Regions from separate parts of the Homo sapiens genome. Here region 1 is linked to region 2. The links are contacts of gene promoters, found by promoter capture Hi-C in blood cells and fetal thymus (Javierre and others, 2016). All regions are on one chromosome and are shown on one strand. Each heading gives the region's core, a stretch centred on a gene start or on the middle of the fragment in contact. The rest is flanking DNA. Distances are from core to core; before and after follow the strand shown. Region 1 has its middle 57 kb from the start of LINC03007. Region 2 holds the start of SP8 (Sp8 transcription factor).

The links. The method cuts DNA at HindIII sites, captures the fragments that hold promoters and counts their contacts. A CHiCAGO score of 5 or more calls a contact.
Region 1: a contact is called between a fragment that was not itself captured here and the fragment with the promoter of SP8 in region 2, in 1 of 17 cell types (total B cells). The highest score is 6.9, in total B cells.

The regions. Positions count from the first base shown.
Region 1 is chr7:25,845,203-25,848,639 of GRCh38, reverse strand. No RefSeq gene overlaps it. Among named protein-coding and RNA genes, the nearest start is that of LINC03007, 57 kb to the right of the region's middle. The HindIII fragment of the contact is 2,950 bases long and covers 420-3,369 here.
Region 2 is chr7:20,785,387-20,788,442 of GRCh38, reverse strand. SP8 (Sp8 transcription factor) reads left to right here and starts at 1,557. Exons shown (of 2, transcript NM_182700.6): 1 at 1,557-1,665; 2 at 2,648-3,056. The coding sequence starts at 1,645. The HindIII fragment of the contact is 6,810 bases long and covers 1-2,840 here.

The DNA.
Region 1 (3,437 bases), core at 645-3,144, 5.1 Mb before region 2:
ACAAAAATCATCTAGAATCCCACCATCTATAGCTAATCACCTTTTGAAGTTTTGGAGTATTGCTGTTCTCGTATGTGGATCGGTTTCATAGTTGTCATTATACTGCAAATGCCCTTGTATATCTTGCTTTTGTTCACAGTGTTATATCACAAGTATCTGTATTTGTTGTTAAAAGCTCTTCATAAGAATAATTTTGATCATCTGGATGATTCATCATATGGCTGAGCCATGGTTTACTGAAGTCAGTGACTTTGGTAGGGTAGTAGTTGCAGTAAGCTCACTAAATGTGACAAGAACAAAAAAGTTATTTTATTGAAAAGTCACCCTACTGTGTGGCCATCCTCATCCCTCATATTGGCGGCCTTCCTTCCATGACTCTAGACAGCTCCGGGAAACCAGAGCCCTTCTACTCTTAAGCTTATTTTTTAGAAAAAATATCTTAGAAAATAATCTCCCTTTCCCCACCTAATCAATCCAGATGTTTAATTACCACGTTGACACAATTGGATTATGACTTCAGGGCAAAAAGCAACTTTACTAAAGAGAATTTGAATGGAAAACAAGAGCATTTTAAAGATCCTCATACAGCAGTTTATTTCTCTTGTTAAATTCATGTCCCTCAAGATATCACAGTACCCACTAGGTACAGATACTGGGCCGCCCTTTGTTAAATCGTAGTTGGATTTATTTTTGCTTCCCTTTTTGGCCCTCTTTCTCACCATTTGTCATTTTCACAGGCTTTAGTGACATAAATCTTGTGGAATGTTGGCTATGCACATAGCATGAAGGATTCAACCTCTCCCATTTCAGGCTGGTTGGCCAATGTAAGCAACTGAGGGTGGCAGAGATCAGGGACAGATAAGACAGGGAGAAGAAGGGGTAGAGGGACTTTGGAAAGAATACCTGAAGTACGAAAGTGACACCTTTAAGGTTAAGGGTGATGGCAATTGACTGATGATTACCAGGTAACAATGGAGTCCACTGGAAGCTGCATAACCATGAACTGTTATGATTATTTTTTCCTATCTATGTGGAAAGGCCTGGTTTGCTTCTCTGCACACAGTCCTGATTCAGTGTGGTGCCCGCATATTGTAAATGTCTTATCCAAGAATCCAGGGACCTGGCCCTGAAGGAAAAGCTGAGGACAGAGTATTTCTGCAACAGGCCTAGGCTCTTGCAAACTTGCCTTCCCAAAGCTCCAAGCCCAACTGGCCTGCAGGGGAGGCGGTCTCGCTGACAACCTGCCCTTTGGCCTTATACCTTCTGTCACAAAAGAGCCATTTTTCCTGAATTTGAAATTGAAGAATTTGATGGCACACGAGTGCTGGGGGGATTTTATTAAGCTGATAAATATGACTACAATTTACTTAAAACCAGTGGCTCTTCTCACTGTCAATGTTGTGGAGTTTATGCCTTTTTCTCTCAAGCTCTCTTTGGCCCAAGCAATTCAGGGCAGAGAGTTTGAAGGGTATTTTGTTTCTGATGTGGGCAGTCTGAAAAATAGTGGACCTTTTAACATTGCACTGACAGACACTCTCAGGGCTAATATAATTGATGTATTCATAGGAGCTTAAGCAAAATAGCTTTCCAAAAGGGAGAAAAACTTGTCTTTTCACCTAAGCACTGACCGATTTGTGGTTTGGATGCTTACACGAGATATTAAACAGACCCGATGGAAAAGGCTTGTTTGCCTCAAGTCTGACTTTCCCTCCTCTTGTAATTTTTGGCCTTGAGTCAAATTTTTGTCCATTCCCCTGCACTCCTTGGGTTGAGGCCAGCACAACGGGCTTGCACTCTCCATGGTGTTGACAGAGTGTTTTTCAGCTGTACCAAAGGCCACAGATTTTCTGTCAGACTTCAAGATACACAGCCTGATAAACATGTCTGCCTCTGGCGATTGGCAGCATTCTTTCTGGAAAAGAAAACAAAAATTGTTTTATATCAATAAGGAAAGTGGTATGAATAGCATAGAATAACACAACTTGGAAGGTGTGCCTGAGGCCTGAGCTTTTTTGCAGTATGTTTAGCTCTTCAGTTCAATTTATTTTTGAGTTCTGTCTTCACCCCACCAGCATCTGATTACTTTCATCAGCCATATGTGTCTGGTTGTGTAACAAATAAACAAATCAACAACCGATTTGTTTGGAAGGTTGGTTGGTGGTAAATGACTCCAGAATGGTGTTTGGAAAAAGTATTTTGGCTTTCTGTAGATATTTTATTTTTCATATGGGATGAAATGGCTGATTTTCGTTAACTCTCTTGTTCACTACAATTTAAAGAAACTGCATGATGTTTCTTCTCTCTGATATTTTCTAGTTGAGTTTTTTTCCCATCACTTTATTCTCTTGGCCATGTGTCAGGTCACCAAATTGGGAAATCAGCCCATGTGGATGACACAAAACTCAACTCTGTGTTACCTGGAAATCTCATCTTTGTAGAGCTGTAGCCAGCTCGGTGCAGATTCCCACAATCAGAGGACTGGATAGCTTCTTCTGACAATTTCTTGCAATCAGAGGGGATTCTTGCTTTGCCATCTTGACTTCAACGTTGACTGTTGGAAAGGAAGAGGGAGGAACACATCCTCAGAGTCAGCACCCTCTTTCTAAAGCTGCTTTGCCATTGAGCAGATGCCCTGGAAGCCTGAAGGGAAGGCTGACTTCTTCAGGTTGAACTTCCCTTTGGAAGATTGATTAAATGCTGATGATCTCTTCAGCAAGCCCATGTGGACCCAATGGCTCAAAGCCAGCCTCAGAACCTCTCCAGTGCAGGCTGCTGGCCGGATTGTACCACCTCACCTGGATGCCGGCTGCTCAAAGGCAGACGAGGCTCATGATGCCTGCTCTTGGGAGTTCCTCAGTGGCACTCAACATTAATTACCTCTCCCCCAGGCCCTTCTGCAAAGTCCAGTGCCAGATCTCTGATGTCACTGCAGGACTATGATTAAACACCAGCTCCAGATCAGCCCAGTGACAGGGAGGGTCATCAGTAATGGATTTGAAAGGGGCTTCAAGGCCCAGGGTAATATGTTATTCATTACCAATGTCGGCTGAGGAGCTGTGAACCTGTCTGTTGGTTGGTAGCGCTTTATATGACACCTCCCCAGGGTCAGTTTCTGTTTGATGAGTGGGAGTGTGCTGTAAACATGTGATGTTAGTATCTTATCAGGTAGCAGAGCTGAGTAGAGATGAAATAGTTCAGCAGTCTTAAGCAGCTTTAGAGAGCTGCCTCAGAAATAAAAATTGTTCCTTCATAGACATAGTAATTCATACATACATACTTATACACACATATATGCATGTGTATACATACATACATATGCATATTGTATGTTTGGGGATGAGCTCTGAATTTAGGACATCTTGACAAGCTTTTCTGTGCAGCTATTCTGCTTGCAGAGGGCAGGGTTCCTAACCTGGGGTGCATGTTTGATGGCCCAT
Region 2 (3,056 bases), core at 308-2,807:
AACTGTTTTTATAACTTATGAATATTCAATAGGGCTACAAAGACTGGACTTTTTGCTACACTGGTGTTGTGCTTTCTGCGGTTTAAGTTCCCTTGTGGTGGCAGTGAAATTGTAATGGCATTTCTGAAGGCAACTAATAACACAAATGGCAAGCAAATGACTAAACCCCACCGAATTTGAACTAAGTGTATCTATTAACATGCACACACACTCATAGACAGATCTCTGGCCCAATCGCCATTAGACACTGACGCCTGGATAAATGTCCAAGATTTGTCAAAAGCTCCTCTCTATTCTTAGATAAATAGAACCCATATATTTCGATCAAAGTCCTGATTCTTTTCTCAGAAAGAGGCAGTGAGGTTTTCTGTGAAAATTTCTAAATTCCGTAAAACGCTCTTCAATTTCTTACCCAAAGAAAAAACGACCCTCGCTTACTCTCTTCTCTATCTAATCCTTTTGTATTGAAATTTACTCAACACCACGGGACACACACACCTCCTCCCCTAGAGTGAGACGTGCACTTCTAAAGCAGAATTCCACCTCAGGGAAAAAAAAAAAAAAAAAAAAAAAAAAAGCCACGGCATCAAAGAAACAACTCATGGGCGCGCAGGCGCGCATCCACGTCCCAACGCATCCCTAAAAATAACCCTTAGCCTCTCAACCTTTCTACTATTTCGTTGGAGAGCCGGGAAAGAAAAGGTGGGTTTAAAGATCTTCTTCAAAAATGTAGTGACGCTGTTTACCAAGTTAAGAAAAAAAAATCACTCAAGATTTTAGGTACAAGGAGCCAAAGGAAGTTGGCGACAGGGGCAGCGTTTGTGAATATTTATTCACTCAGCCTCCATCAACTTAGTCGGTTTCTCTCTTCAGCTCGACAGTCTCTCTCTTACAAACACACACTTTATTGCATTGTTCCCATTCCCCACTACCAGCTTTGGTGCGCGCACACAACACAAGCGCCCACACACACCCTTCCCTCTTCTCTGTCGCACAAATACACATGTTCACAGCCCTCCTTCTCCCCCAACACCAAACACACTCACCCCCCACCCAGTTGAGTCCCTCTTCCCTCCCTAGGTTTGTCAGTTACACTACCGTACACTCACACCCTTCCCAACACTTAACTGCTCTGTCCCTCTACCCCGCTTTGTCGCACACGCAGTTATCTTATCACACAACCCTCCCTTTTCTGCACTCTCTCCACTCCCCGCCTTTACCACACTGTCACTGTTACGGTGTCACACCCCCATCCCCCCTCCCTCCAGTCTCCGCACTGTCCTCTCCTACGCCTGGTCACACTCGCACACAGTTACATTGTTACACACACACTCATACACGCGAGCGCGCGCTTTGCGCTTTGTAACACACGCAGCCGCCCCCGCCCCCTCCGCTCCCACTCCCCCTTCCACCACGGCGGCAGGCGGCGGCGCCGATGACCTCACGGCGCGCGCGCCGCGCGGCCCGGCGAGGCCGCAGATTGGCTGGCCGCGCCTCCGCGGCACTTCAAAGCCGGAGAGGGAGCTACAATTGTGGTGGAATGGGCGGAACTGATCATTGTATTGCACACCTCTAAAAAAAACACTGCCTCTGATTTATCAATATAAAAAAGATCCTCTGAGAGGAGGAGGGCACTTTTGTGTGATGGCAACTTCACTTCTAGGGGTGAGTCTCAGGATTTTCTCTTGCTGGTTTAATTAGTTTCCTTTTATTGCCGATTGGAGGGGGTTAAAGTCGCCCCGGCCAGGCCACGGGCTATCAGTCTCTCTATTGAGAGCTTTTTTTTTTTTTCTTTAAATACAAGTGAGTTTGGAGAAAAGAAAAAGGGGGAGAAGGGGGCAGAGTCACTTTTTTTCAGCGCAGGAAAAGGTTCGAAGGGCATTTAGACAAGCCACCGCGCAGCGCCTCGCTGCTCCCTGCCCGGGAGACCTGCGTCCAGCCCATTTTACAGGCACCGATTTCGGGGGTAAAGAGAGCAAGTTTTTCCTTCTGGGCAAAGTGCAGATTCTTCCCCTAACCCTTAAAAAAAAATTCTGCAGCCCGCCTTGTCTCGCAGGTACGTTGAACTCGTCTCGTTTTTACTACTGTAGATATGCTTTTAAAAAAAGAAAGAAAGAAAAGCAGGAAGAAAGAGTGAGCCCTACAGTTTGATTTCTTTTGGCCTGGGAGAAACAACCCAGGATGGGTTTCTGGGGACCCGAACAGGTTTTTCAAAGCTCTCCGGATTACAGGGAAGCGCTCTTAAAAGCAATCCAATGGTTTTCCCCCAGGCTTCTCGGCAAAGAAAACTTCCTTCCTCTCCAATCTGGACTTTTTGCTTGTTTGTTACGAAGTGTCTGGGGCTTTGTGTGCAAGAGAGTGTTGTTTTAGGTGAGAATACTTGTCAAACTCTTCTTTAGCGTGGTGCTTGCTCCCGAATCAGACGCCGGCAGCCAAACTTGTCCCCTCCTGTAGAGTAGGAAGCGGCCGGGCGCCGGGGCTGTTGGGGGTGCCAGGTGAGTTGGTGGCGGCGCGCCGCAGCGAGAGATGGGGTGCAGTGGGGCGCTTTGGAGGCTACCGAAGGACTGATGCACATTTCTTCCTTTCCTCCCCCACCGGCCCTTTGCCCACCTCCCCTCCCCCACTCCTTCTCCTCTCCTCCTCGCAGGAAGAACCGAGGTTGGGATCGACTCCTCTGGCCATGCTTGCCGCTACCTGTAATAAGATAGGCAGCCCCAGCCCGTCTCCCTCCTCCCTCTCGGACAGCTCTTCTTCCTTCGGCAAAGGCTTCCACCCCTGGAAACGCTCCTCGTCCTCTTCTTCCGCCAGCTGCAACGTAGTGGGTTCCAGTCTCTCAAGCTTCGGCGTGTCCGGGGCCTCCAGGAACGGCGGCTCGTCCTCGGCGGCTGCGGCGGCCGCGGCAGCAGCCGCGGCTGCCGCGGCCCTGGTGTCCGACTCGTTCAGCTGCGGCGGCTCGCCTGGCTCCAGCGCCTTCTCCCTCACCTCCAGCAGCGCCGCAGCCGCCGCCGCCGCCGCCGCAGCCGCCGCCTCCAGCTCGCCCTTCGCCAACGACTACT